2 separate regions of the Homo sapiens genome follow, and region 2 is linked to region 1. The links are contacts of gene promoters, found by promoter capture Hi-C in human tissues and cell types (Jung and others, 2019). All regions are on one chromosome and are shown on one strand. Each heading gives the region's core, a stretch centred on a gene start or on the middle of the fragment in contact. The rest is flanking DNA. Distances are from core to core; before and after follow the strand shown.

Region 1 (7,106 bases), core at 365-2,864:
TGTCAGCTGAGGCCACGGATCCGACGGCCCCAGGATCCTCAGTCCATGGGGCCCAAGAGTCATAAAACAAGAACATGAATCCATCTGTCTGTCTGGTATTCCTGGAGCTTGGTCACGCTGCGGGAGCTCTGGCTTGCAGCTGGCAGGGCCCGGGGTTGAAGGGACAGCTCCCAGCATGGAAGGCTATGGGTGGGGGGACATTGCAAGAAGCACTGATGCTCCCCTCTGCAGTCCCCACCCAGTCCTGACTTTGCTTGTCTAGACTGGCTCGAGGAGGGGGTCGGCAGCTGGCGATTCTGCCTCTCCAGGAAGTGCAGCTGGGACTGTAGGGTCCCCAGGGACTTGCAGGATCCTCTGCCTGATAATCGTGGAGAAATAAGGGAAGGTGTCTATAGGAGGCAGGTGGTGCCTGGCCTTAGAGGAGAGCCCCAGCAGAGCGACCTCCACGACAGAGAAACCCCAGAACGCCCAGACTGCAAGCTCCAGGAGCAACAAAAGTGGACTGTGCCCCTCGAATGAGGGAATATCTGTCTGTCTGGTTGACTGCCAGCTGTGTGTGTGTGGTCATCTCTGTCTCTGTGTGTCTTTCTCTGGAGCGTTTTTATTTAAGCTTTTGACTTCCTTTATTACTGGTGTGGACTTGTGTGTGGGCATCCTGTTGCCAGTTTATGATGCACATGTGTGGAATCGCCCTGAGCTTGCCTTTGATATTGGTGTGTTGTGTGGTGTCATTGGCGTGCACGTGTATGTGTGTGTCGCTGATTCTCATGCAAGAATGTGCTTCTCTTATGTGTCTGTCGGAGTGTGCCTCTAGCATGTCCCTCTTGGCTGCTGCACCACCTTTCCTGGCCCTTACCACCTCTTGGCCCACCATATGGGTGCTTTTGTATCCAATTCCCCTCCTTAGCAGGTCAGCTCCTGGAGGGCAGGCACTTGGTCTCTTTTGTCCATGGCTCTGTTCCCAGCTCCTACAACAGTGCTAGGCACTAGTGGGCGCTCAGCAAAATAAAACTGACGGAATGAACGGTGTGTCCAACGCATGTGCCTCTCCAGTTGTGCAATTAATCTTGGTGTGATACTGTGTGTGAGTGGGGTTGTGAGACAATGAGGATTTCTGTTGTGTGTTTGTAATGAACTCGGAATGTGCACAAGCATATATGTGTATGTGTGTGCAACATTGAGTATGGTGTGCATGATCGAGCCCCTGTGTATCTCTGGAGAGCATGTGTGATTGACTCTCGTGTGTGTGCCAGCATGTCTGTGCATCTCTCATGTGTTTGGCGTAATTGTCTGGTGTGCAGGTATGAACCCGCGTGTGCCTCCAGAGCGTGTGGGCGCGCGAGTGTACGCACACGGCTCCTGCCCCGCGCTCTCCTCGCGCCCTGCGCTCCGCCTGGGGGCGGAGAGTGGGGGGTGCGGCGAGGGCACTGCGGTGCCGCGGCCCGCCCTCCGCGCTGCGGCTCGGGAGCGTCACCGTCCCTCCCCGCCCCAGCCGCGATCCCCGCCTCCTGGTCCTTTGTAGCTGGCCGCGCCGCTAGCCCGCAGCCGCCCAGAGGCCCCGCCCCGGCCCCGCCCCGGCGCGCGCCACGCCCCGCCCCTCCCCTCCCTGGGCCGCAGTCGCGCCCGGGCCGCCGCAGGCCCGCACCGAGGCGCGGAGCGCGGCGCACGGCGGTGCCCAGGGCCGCGGGCGGGCAGGCGGGAGCGCGGTGGGTGGCCGGCCTTGGACGGGTATGGCGGACCGGCGGCGCGCGTGGAACACCGAGGACGACCTGCCCGTGTACCTGGCGCGGCCGGGCAGCGCGGCGCAGACCCCGCGCCAGAAGTACGGCGGCATGTTCGCCGCGGTGGAGGGCGCCTACGAGAACAAGACCATCGACTTCGACGCCTACAGTGTGGGCCGCCGCGGCTCGGCGCGCACGCCGCGCAGCGCTGGCCGGCCCGACGCGGTCGGGCTGCCAGGGCCGGGAGGCAGCGAGGACACGGCCAGCGACGTGAGCGAGCCCTCGGGCTCCGCGGTCAGCTCTCCCGGAGAGCGCGACGAGCGGCCGCCGACGCTGCGCATCCGCCGCCCCGCGCCCCGCGACCTGCCCCTCGGCCGGGACAATGGCCAGGTACCCTCGGGGCGCGCGCGGGCCAGACGAGGGGGGCGGGCCCCGGGAGGACCCAGGGCATGGGGCGCCCGAGGGCCATGCCCGGGCCCCGGTGTTGGGGCAGCGGCCGCCAGGCTGGGGAGAGCCACGGCGCGGCCCCTCCCCCACCTCATCATGCAAGAGGTTCCCAGAGCTGGGGCGACTCGGTCGGGGCTGGCCGGCGTGGTCCGTGAGACTCGGAAGGGATCGCCCGGGTCCAGTCCCGGCTCCTCTTCTACAGAAAGGGAGAGAGGTTCTGAGAGGGGAAGTTGGCTAAAGCTACCGCATGGACGCTTAAACGCGAAGGAACCTCTGGGATGAATCTAACCCAGGCCCCTCATTCTGTTTTGTGAAAAGAACTGGAGCTCCGTTCCGTGTTGGTCCATTCATCCATCCACTCAGTCGGTAGTAATTATAGAGCACCTACTGTGTGCCGGGCCCCGGGAGAGGTTCCGCGAGTCGCCTGCGGCCACACAGCTTAAAGCTGGAAGGAGCTTTTTTTCCGAGCGCTCCCCTCATGCTTGCTGGGGGGAAGGATTTGGTTAAGGATTTAGTTCGTCGGGCAGTTGGAGCCGTAAACCCCTACCCTCAAGCGCCAGTAGATTCAAGGGGCACTCCTGAGCTCCACAGCACACACCGATGTGCCTGCTTCACAGAGCAAGGTGGAGGTAGAGCTGGGATTTGAACTGGGGTCTCTGGCCTCCCGGACCTGAGCATGGGGCCGGGAGGATCAGGGAGAGGGAACGCTAGGGCTTGGGCCCTGCGGGTATTCTCTCTTGAGCTGGGGGTCACCAGGAAACTGGGGGAAGAAGGGCGGATGGACGGCGTAGCCTTTGGATGGACCGACGAGAGCCAGGGTCAGGTGCCAGAAAAACGGAAGTTGGAGCATCCGAGGGCTGGGGAGCTTTCGAATTGGTCCAGACCTGGATGCCGGAGAACTGCTAGGTGCCAGGCCCAGGGTAGGCGCTAGGTCCCTGGCTCAGCAACCTGGCCCCACCCTCCAGAAGTTCCCAGGCTAGGGTGAGCGACGGATTCATTGTGAGAATTAAATCAGTTAATGCCGGTCGGTAGTGAGCATTCAATAAATGTTTGTTGTTGACTTTTATTACAATCATTATCATTTTAATTAAACCTTCCCCTCTTAAATGCTATGAGTGACCCAAAGTGAGCCTGGAGGGAAGCAGAGCTTGATCGGGGCAGATATCTGGGAGGGCTTCCTGGAGGAATAGGAGCAGGGAACTGGTAAACACGGTGGTGGGCCTCTTCGGGCCCCATCCCTTCGCGGGCGGGCTGTTGCTCCAGAGCTCTCCGTGGTCCTGAAGCCGGAGCCTCGCGAGGGAGAGGTCCAACAGCAAGGGTGTGTGTGTGTGTGTGTGTGTGTGTGTGTGTGTGTGTATGTGTGTGTGGTGGTGGGGTGATCAGAAAGGGAGATGGTGCGAGAGTCCAGCTTCCTCTTCCCCCACCCCTTCTGTATCTCCCCCTGTCCACTACCTTCCCTGGTGGTCCGACCTCTCTTGGGATCCAAACTCCCGAGCCCGATGGGGAGGCTTCTGGGCCGCGGGCCGAGAAGCGGGACCAGCACCAGGGAATCCGGGTTTCCAGCCAAGGCGCTTTGCTCTCTTGGGCCTCAGCTTCTCCATCTGTCAGATGGGGGTGGCCGTCTTCTTCCGGCCTTCCTCAAAGCGTGGTGGAGTACTAGGGAGGCGAGGGCGCTTTGTGCACGGCCCGTAGCTGTCCCAAGGAGAGTTCCTCTGGAACTGCGGTCAATGTCACCAACGCCAGCATCTCCCCCAGGGCGCAGCCTGGGCCAGCCCCGCAGCTGCGCCCTGACCCTTGGGGACGCTGGTCGCTTCACCTCTCCCGTTCCTCTCCCCTACTCCTTCCTCTTCTCCCTGTGGTCCCCTCTGCCTTTCTCCATGGCTTCTCAGGCACCGGACAAAAGGCAGCGCCTCTGGCGCTCCCGGGGCTCCGAAAGCACTCGAGCTTCGCGACTGTGGAACTCAGGGGCTCGCGATCTCCACGGAGGGAGGGTTTTACTTTCTGCCGGCAGAGCGGCCTTGAGGCTTGGGTTACAGTGGGCTCGGGTTCCGGGGCGGGCCTCACCGCTCCAGGGCTTCGCAACGGGTGCCCCGGCCCTTCCCCCCCCGCCCACCAGGCTTCTCCCTGGGCTGCAGGAGGGGTTTCTGCGGCGCAGGCGCAAGGATTGCCGCTGCCGGAGGCTGAGCGGCTGCGGCGCTTTGTACCGGCGAAATCTGCTTGGGAGCAGCGATCTGTTTGGCCAGTGGCAGGCGGATGCTCCTCCCCCTGATACGCACGTGGTCTTGTCCCTTGCTGTAGGGGCTTTCTGCTCAGATCTCCAGACTGACCCCAGGGAACGCCCTGGTACGGGGAACCTAGGACTTAACAACTCCAAGGAAGGGAGTGTAGGAGTTGGGGAGGGACAGTGTCCCCATCTGCAATTTCCGGTCATTGACAGGGATTTTAGGCCCCGCTGAGAGCCAGGGATGCATGAATGCGTGGAGGGAAATGAGTTGTAAACAGAGTGTAGGGGAACCTGGCATCTCCATGCTGCTTTGCTGCAGCTAATATGTTTTGCACCCGGGGTACATCATTTTACCTCTGTAAGCCTCAATTTCCTGTCTGTAAAATGGGAAAATTATGCCTAGTGTTCCTGGGATACTGAGCTGGCTTCTCTGTGAAGCTAAAACCTCACCTCTATTTTAAGGCCCAGGTGTCTCTGGCCTCCTGCCCTGGATTAGGGGACTGGCCCCTGGGGTGGTGAAGGTCAGGGCCCCAGCCCCCAACCACAGTGCTGGGGGAGCTGTACCAAGCCTAGGCCACCCTCGCTCTGGATGGCAACTTGAAAGCAGAAAAGATGAGTAGTTTCATAGGACCTGTGGGGTTGGATTTCGCATGCAGAAAATGAACAACGAAGTGGTGGACAAGGTTGGTGTTTTATTCTGCCTGGGAACTTGGGGCACCTGTCCAGTGAGGTTGGGGCTTGCTGGGGCTCCCCCTTTTCCTCCATCTTCTTTCATCTTTTCCCCTCTGCTGTTACGGACCTTGTCAAGCTGTGACCTGGCTTCCTGCCCACCTCCCTCTGGAGCAACATCTGGATCATGGACTCCGGGGCTGGTGTCCACAGTGCTGGGAGGCAGGAGCACCCTAGTCCTCCTCCTGACCCCCAGCTTGTCCCCAGGGCTGTGGAGACCTTGGTGCCAGTGGCCCAGCCCTCCAAACACCTGCTGTCTTGGAGGCAATTCTGTGGGGTGACCTGGTGGCCCCAGTGTCAGGCTGCTGTGTGATGAGGGAGCTGCTGTTGGAGTAGAACAGGTCAGCATTAATTAAGGCCGTACCCTTCTGTCCCTGCTGTTCCCTCTGCCAGTTAGGGGGCTCCACCTTAGAGGCCCCCAGGGAGGGCTGGTTCAATGCTAGGATGGAGAGGGTGGCAGGGAGAGGCTTCGTGGTGGGGAAGGCATTGGAGATGGGTCTAGGGGAGTGGACAGGCTTTTGTCTGGGGTAGACTATTCAGGGAGAGGGTACAGCGTGAATAAAGGCTTGGGGTCCGAGATGGAAAAAGTGCTTGGTGCATTCAGGGAGAGGCACTCGGGAAGGATAAACGGAGGCTATGGAAGGAGAGGCAAGAGGGGAGCGGTCCTTGGGCGCGATCCTGGAGGGACAAGAACGTTCCCAGCAGCTTGGGCCGATCCTTGGCCCCCGTCCCACACTCCCTCCCCCCACACCCCCGCAGATGTTCCGGGGAGGCCTCCAGACGCGCGGCCACACACCTGTGGCGCCGCCCGCGGGCCCTGACCGCGCCGTCTTTTTCTTTTAAAGGAGCCCTGAAAACCATACTCTCTGGATCGCGAGAGCGAGGCCAGGGCCCGCCAAGGGCGTGTGCGCAGGGCGGGGGTCGGCGGGGCTGGGCGGGTGGGGGGCGGGGGGCGGGGTGGGAGATCGGAAGGGAAGCGCTTCCTGGTTCGAGCCGAGAGGGGCGAATCCGGCTTCGCTCCGCGCCGCCGGGAGGAGCTGTCTGCAGCCCCCTCCTCCCGCCCTCGCCTCTCCCTCCTCCTTCTCCCGCCCTCCTCGCCGATCCGGGCGGTGCTGGCAGCCGGAGCGGCGGCGGGCGGGCCGAGCAGCCGGGGCAGCCGCGCGTGGGCATCCACGGGCGCCGAGCCTCCGTCCGTGTCTCTATCCCTCCCGGGCCTTTGTCAGCGCGCCCGCTGGGAGCGGGGCCGAGAGCGCCGGTTCCAGTCAGACAGCCCCGCAGGTCAGCGGCCGGGCCGAGGGCGCCAGAGGGGGCCATGTCGTACCAGGGCAAGAAGAGCATCCCGCACATCACGGTAAGCGGCCCCCGCCCCCGCCGCCCCGCGCTGGCCTTTGTGGGCTGGGAGTGGGCGCCCGGCAGGGTCCAGATCCACGGGGCGCCGGCAGGGGCGCCCCCCGAGGCCTCCTGCGTCGCCGCGGGTGGGGCGGGGCCGGTCTCGGGATTTCAGCCCCCTCCCCCAGCCTCTGGGGACAATGGGGGTGGGGGAGCCCCGCATGGCGGGGCGGGGCTGGAGCCGGGAGTCCCTCTCCCCGCGGGCTTGCCGCCCCCTCCCCCCACGGGATGTGCCAGAGGATGGCGTGGACAGGGAGGATGCGGAGCCGAACAAAAGAGGGAGGGGCAGGGGTCCGAACCCCCTCCCCGCAGGCCTCGCGCGGGGGTGGGAGGGTGAGCTGAGCCTCCTTGGCTCGGCCCCCGCACCGTCCGGCCCATGCACCCCACAGCCCGGTACCTCCCCCGCTGGAGGAGGGAAAAAGATCATCCAGCGCTCCCCACTCCCCGCCTTTACTGATGGAGTGGAAGTCCGGACCTAGGGACAGCGCCATGATGGAAGCTCGGTCCACCCCTCCCCGCAGCTAAAAATAACCTAATGGGGCGACGCTGGCGGCTGCGGCCCGGGAAGGGTTAATGTTCCCGACGCTGGGCCGCGA
Region 2 (6,833 bases), core at 3,773-6,272, 1.4 Mb after region 1:
TGTGGTTGTTGAATTCATGTAAACTTGATGTTTGACGTCTCTTACTACATGGAAATCCACATGGACTCCCTCTGGTGGGTAAAGTATCAGTGAAGTCTACACATGTTAATTATGGCTTATGGTATGAAAACCATTTTATGTTTAAAGCGTATTACATTTAATATTGACTTAAAAAGAGGCAACTTCAAAACTCCTCTAAAAGAAAGTGAATAAACCAGAGGAATGAAAGTATGATATATTGAATGAACCCAATAACTCAGATATGGAAAGCTTGCAGCACAGTTGAAATTTTAAACCCGGCAATACTTTTTTCTTTGTTACAGACTTTCAGATCCTCAAAGACTATGAATACTAAAGTTTGCCAGCTTCTACTTATCACCATCTAACATATGTCTGTTTGTCAAAATGTTCTTACCATGGAATTTGTAAGCTGTATTTAACCAAGAGAGAGACACTTCCATTTCACAATATTGTAACATTTCTATCTAATTTGTAGTCAAATGATAAGAAAACTCTGGTGAAATGAACACTTGCCTTTTCTTGGACATTTTCTCCAGCAGTGAATTCTATAGTCTTAGCAGAAGTAACAGGCTACAGCATATCTTAACTCAGAGGAATTGAGAAAGGAATTAAAAAGTGTACGTTTCGAATTGTAAATACTTTTGGCCTTTGCCAATAGCTTACTATGTGATCTTGGAGAACTCACCTAACCTCTCTGGGTGTCACTCTTCTGATTTTTTTAATGAGAGGTTTTGACTAGATAATCCATAAGGACCTTTTCAATGAGATGGTTGCATGACTCAGTACTCTTTATCTGAAAGTCCCAGGATGTATTTTTAAATACTTTTTGCAGTGATAACTGCCCATTACCTTGTGATATTTTCCCTGAGTCTCTGAAAGAGTGAGGTTTTTTTTTTGTTTTGGTTTGTTGTTGTTGTTGTTGTTTTCAAAGTTAGCATTTTTGGTGTGTTTTCACAAATGTATTTGATTTAAAAGTGGTGATATAATTTTATAATGGAATTTTATTAGCAGGGCACATTTTTGAAGTTGACTATTTTAAAATCTGATTATAAAATTAGTAAGTGCTCATTAAACAGAATAAAGAAGAAAATAGTTCACATTTAGTACCAGTGTCAGGAAATAGCCATAGTTAAAATTCTGGTGTTTAACTTTCCAAACATTTTTTCTGTTAAATAAAATCAAGATTCTTCTACAATACGGTTATGTAATCCCTCTCCATATGCCCTCCCCTCTTCCTTGGGGGAGTAGAGAGGGGTTACATAACAGTATTGTAGAAAACAATGTATTTTGGAAATTTTTAAATATCAGTATGTATTGCTCTTACCACCAGTTTATTTGGCTGCATAGCTATTAAAAATAGTAATAAATAATTGATTTATCTGAACCCCTGTTGAAAGCTATTTAGGCTGCTTCTAGTTTATTAGTATTTTAAGCAAACAGTATATTTTTACCAAATTTGTTTCAAATTTATCATAGCCTCTTAAAAAGACAAAAAATGTAGTTTGTTTTTTGTTTAATCTTTTCTCAAATGTAAAAAATTGAATGTTCTAGTATTGATAAAAGGAAAATTATTGCTATATTATTTGAAAGTATTAAATGTTTTAGGACTTATTACCAGTTCTGGATGAGTATAGAAAAAGGCATGTAATTAGAGGCAGTCTACTTAGGAAAGCTTTGACCTGGGAGCAGATCCTTGAAGAGCAAGTCAAGTGGATGGATGGTGAACATGAGCCTGGTGTGCTCAGTGACAGTAAGGAAACCAGCGTAACAAGGCCAGTGGGGGCTTCTTACTCAGCAGTGTGAAACGGGGAGGTGCTGTGGCCTGATTACAGAGGCCTCGAGAGCCATTGTATAACATTAGTGGGCAAACATCAATGGCGATCCTATATTTAATTAATAACCATTTAGAATATAACGAAACATTTATAGTAGCAACAAAAAGAGTTTCTAGTAATAACCTTAAAAAGAAATGTAAATGACCTAGTTGAAGCAAACTGCAAAATTTTGTAGACAGATACAGAAGATTTGGATAAATAGAAACACGTATTGTGTACCTGGAAGTGAAGAAAAAGTGTTGTCAACACAGCAATTATTACTTTAATGCTCACTTTGGCAGCATATATACCAAAACATTTTACACCAAAAAATAATATATGCATATATGAATTTTTTAGTGAAACCCATTAGTCCAGGGTGTGTGTGTGTGTGTGTGTGTGTAAATTTTATCCATGCCAAAGGATGTGTTGTAAATCAGTAAGAAAAGGAAGATTTATTCAGTGATTGGCGGTAATTGGTTAGCACTTTGGGAAAAAAATAAATTTTTAGTTCCTTGTTTCATACATACATTAAAATAAATTTCTAGATGGACTAAAGATTTAACTGTAAAAACAAAACTGAAGAAAATGAAGATGAATGTTGACATACTTTGTAGAAGTGGGAAGTCTTTCTGAGTTTTAAAAGTTTGACCGGGTATGGTGGCTCATGCCTGTAATCCCAGTACTTTGGGAGGCTGAGGTGGGTGGATCGCTTGAGCTTAGGAATTCAAGACCAGCCTGGGCAACATGGCAAAATCTCATCGCTATAAAAAAATACAAAAATTAGCCTGCCGCTTTGGCACACACCTGTAATCTCAGCTACCCGGGAGGCTGAGGTGGGAGGATTGCTTGAACCCGGGAAGCAGAGGTTGCAGTGATCCAAGATTGTGCTATTGCACTCCAGCTAGGAAAAACAAAACAAAACAAAGTTTGCAGCAGCAGTGTTTCTTTTCTTTTCTTTTTTTCACAAAGCCTTAGAAATGTTCACAGAACAGCAGCAGCCTTAATAATACAATAATAATGATTTTGATGATGATGGTGATGGCAGCTGTCACAAGTACCTTACATAGAGACACTACAGCATTATTCCCAAGTATAGAGAAATTGTTAGGTAAATGTGACATACTGAAGAGTATGTCATGACATGAGAATTATATATTATTATATATAATTAATATATGCTTATATTATTATGTTAGCTTAAAAAAATAACTACCCAAACCAATTACAATTAAAACTATGTATGCAAACCCAAAAAACTCTAGGCATGGAAATGACTGGAAGGGAACTCACCAAAATGTTAACCATGGCTTTTTCTGAGTGATGGGACTTGGGTGATTTATTTTTCTGCTTCTATCATCCAGAATTTCTTTAATGAGCACATTTACTTTTGAAATGAAAAGCAAAACAGAACAAGTAAAACTCCTGGCAGATGAGTTTTTATTTGCTGTGGTAGGAAATGGAGAATTAATAGCTTTTGATTAGAAAAATGTTATGAGCAAGCAATATCTAATTCTATATTAAATGTGCAGTGGAGGGGTGGGGGCTATTTAAAGGAAGTCTGTGGTAAAATCTTTTGTAAAGGGAGTAATTTTCCTGTAACTCAGCTGGATTTCCAATCCAGACTTTCTTAATCTATATGAGAAAATCATCCACAAATGTTGCATTGATGTCTTAGTTTCTGGTTGTTATTCTAAAGCATAATAAATGATAATAATGGCTACCACTTGTTGAGCACCTACTGTACCTGGCCCTGTGGTAAAAGCTTTATAATTTATTTGACTATCCTTTCAAGTTAGGCTCCTTTATTCATGAAGAAACCGAGGTTCAGAAGGGTAAGCTATCTCCCAAGATGACGTCCCTGGTGCTGTGAGATGAGTAGTCCTGGCACGTGTGTGCTGTGCTTCTCCGGTTGCCTGCTGCCTCCCCAGCTCTTGGGCATGCACAGGTGTCCTGTGGCAAGTGTGTCCCAGGCTGGGAACTGTGCTCCACTTGGCATTCCACAGACCACGCCTCTGGGGATTTGCTCTTTAGTATGTTATCACATCATCTGCTGTCTTTAGGAGCATATTTTGGTGCATACATTATATATTTGAAAGTGCTTGACTAACTTTTGGGGAAATATGGCTGCTTCCAAACCAACCTTTTTCTTTTAATCAACAATTACCTTGTGACCGTGCATTTCTTTTCTTTCTTTTTTTTGAGACGGAGTCTCGCCCAGGCTGGAGTGCAGTGGCGCGATCTTGATTCACTGCAAGCTCCGCCTCCCTGGTTCACTCCATTCTCGTGCCTCAGCCTCCTGAGCAGCTGGGACTACAGGCACCAGCCACCATTCCCGGCTAATTTGTGTATTTTTAGTAGAGACAGGGTTTCACCGTGTTAGCCAGGATAGTCTCGATCTCCTGACCTCGTGATCCGCCCGTCTCAGCCTCCGAAAGTGCTGGGATTACAGGTGTGAGCCACCATACCTGGCCAACCATGCGTTTCTTAAAGATAAGTGTTGTGGTTTGCTTTTGGGGAAAAGAGAAAAGGATTTGTGGTTTTAGTTAGTAAAATCATTGAGAGGGAAGGAGACCCAATTTATGGATTATAGACATTTGAAAAAAAATTGTAATTCCCTTTTCTGTTGTTGGGATACCAGTTTTTGATTTTATTTGTTCATTAAATGGTCAGTTCCGTGGAGATCTCTGGAGCTGAGATGGCTTTTTAGAATTGCCCAATTGAGGCAAAGGGCCAGGGCTTTTTAACCACTGCATTGGCCAGCCATTGTCTGTGGGCTTCTCCCAGGGAAGGGCCCTAGTGTTGGGTGAGGCACCTTCCTGCTGCTTGAGACACACTCGGCTGTGAGCCAGCAGCAGGCAGTTCTCCTAGTACCTGGGGGCCTCAATCCGAAAGATGCAGTTTAGCCACACAACCTGTATTAGTTCATTTTTTGCATTGCCATAAAGGAATACCTGGAGCTGGGTAATTTATAACGAAAAGAGGTTAATTTTGGCTTATGATTCTGCAGACTGTACGAGAAGCATGGCATCGGCATCTGCTTTTGTGAAGCCTCAGGAAGCTCACAATCATGGCAGGAGGTGAAGGGGGAGCAAGAGTGTCACATGGTGAGAGAGAACAAGAAGAGAGAAGGGGGAGGTCCCAGACTCTTTTAAACAAGCAGATCTTGTGTGAACTGAGCAAGAATTCACTTATCACCAAGGGGACAGCGCTAAGCCATTCATGAGGGATCAACCCTCATGATCCAACACCTCCCAGCAGGCCCCCCCTCCAATATTGGGGATCACATCAAGAGGCTGATCTTTATGGGCTGCATAGTGGGGTTTCCTTGCCCCCTGGCTTCTGATAGGGGTCAACTAATGGGAGGCTCCAGCAGGAGATGGGAAGGCTGGAAAAGAGGAGTTGGCTTGGGAACTGGGTAGAAGCTTTGCATCCACAGCCCATGACTCAGGTTAGGTGTCTGCCCACCAGCTCTAGAATTTTTCCGCTGTGTAAGTCTAGCATCCTGGGGGTTAGGATGATTTAGCCAGTAGGCTAGTACCAGCCAGCAATGGACAAGGCAGCATTGCAGCCTCACTCAGGGTGACCCTGAAAGACAGTGGCTAAGGGATGTCTTCCCCATGCCCAGAACTTGGGCCAAATCATCACTGCCTTTTAATTTAAGGTAGTTTTTAATATATATATATATGTGTGTGTGTGTGTGTATATATATATAAAGACATATATATATAAAATTATATATATATAAAAACATATATATATATAAAATTATATATATATAATTTTTTTCTCTATCTTTCTTCCTTAGGCTCAGCATTACAGTGGGAAAAGTCAAGTATTTTAGGCTCACACAGATTTTTCTCTCAGTGACGTGGCAGTTCATACTTTCCCTCCAAATATGACCTGGTAAATGACTCTGTGGCATGTTGACTGCAAATCTGAACTGAAATGGAATCTGTAACCCATTATCAGATCCTGAATCAAGCTGCCTTGTCCTTCTCCAGTTTTTGTTTCAGTGGAAATGTGTGTTTTTATTCTGTCAATGGACAGTTTACATACCTAATATTAAAAGGGAATTATATAATGAACACTTGATGTAAAAGAGACTAGTTAAATACTTCAACTCCAAAAGTTTCCATTAAAGTAATAAGGAAATTACATTTAATTTTAACTGGTAGAAAGTTTTAAAAAATGTTATTGCTATTAAGCATTTATTACCCACACTCAACCCTTTTTTTGTGAGTGAATTCCCAAAGCACAATTCATCTTTATACAGGTAGAAAGGAAATATTCTTGCAAAATATGTAGTTTGATGTCATCTTAACTGTGGAGAGAAGCATATTTTTCCAAAGAATAGAATGTGATGGTTGATTGGAAACTTTTGGAGTTACAGGCTAGCTCTACCTCTTGAAATAAGAAAATATATATAAATAGGTCCCCAGATGAAGGCGTCGTGGGGTACTTTACAGCCCCAATTGGCTCCAGACACAGAGGCAGTGATTTGTAAGCAAGCAATGACAAGAGGAAGTTAAATCAAAATTAAATTAAGAGAAGGAAGAAAAAGAAGAGCTATCAAGGAGAGGTGATGAATTTCCTGAAAGCTTCTAAATACCTATCTGTGGGTAAATGATTGAAAATCTGTGAATATATCTCACTTATGTCAAAAGATGAAATCTGGAAACATTTCAGTCCTAAAAAAATACCTTACTTGTTATCTTTGAAGCCTTTTTTTATTTTTTCAATTTTTTTTTTGGAGATAGAGTCTCACTATGTTGCCCAGGCTGACCTCAAACTCTTGGGCTCAAGCGTCCTCCTGCCTCAGCCTTCTGAGTAGCTGGGATTATGCATGTACACCACCATGCCTGGCTTCAGAAGTCTTTTCAAATATTCATTACTTGGTACAGTTCAACCAGTACAAGCATATTTGCTTCTATACTTTCCCGTTGACTCAACTGCGATAAAATCAGCATCTTCCATGGTGCACATGAAGTCGTATAT

The links. The method cuts DNA at HindIII sites, captures the fragments that hold promoters and counts their contacts. A contact is called where the count stands out against the background at its distance.
Region 2: a contact is called between a fragment that was not itself captured here and the fragment with the promoter of CRMP1 in region 1, in 1 of the 25 tissues and cell types used here (dorsolateral prefrontal cortex).

Annotation. Positions count from the first base shown.
Region 1 is chr4:5,887,594-5,894,699 of GRCh38, reverse strand. It overlaps CRMP1 (collapsin response mediator protein 1), which reads left to right and starts at 1,614. Exons shown (of 14, transcript NM_001014809.3): 1 at 1,614-2,111. The coding sequence starts at 1,731. RefSeq lists enhancers at 3,009-3,752, 3,753-4,497, 7,041-7,106. The HindIII fragment of the contact is 12,427 bases long and covers 1-7,106 here.
Region 2 is chr4:4,526,558-4,533,390 of GRCh38, reverse strand. All of the region lies in intron 1 of STX18 (syntaxin 18), which reads left to right. LOC107986254 (a long non-coding RNA gene) reads left to right here and starts at 4,248. Exons shown (of 2, transcript XR_001741564.2): 1 at 4,248-4,942; 2 at 5,644-6,833. The HindIII fragment of the contact is 4,750 bases long and covers 2,648-6,833 here.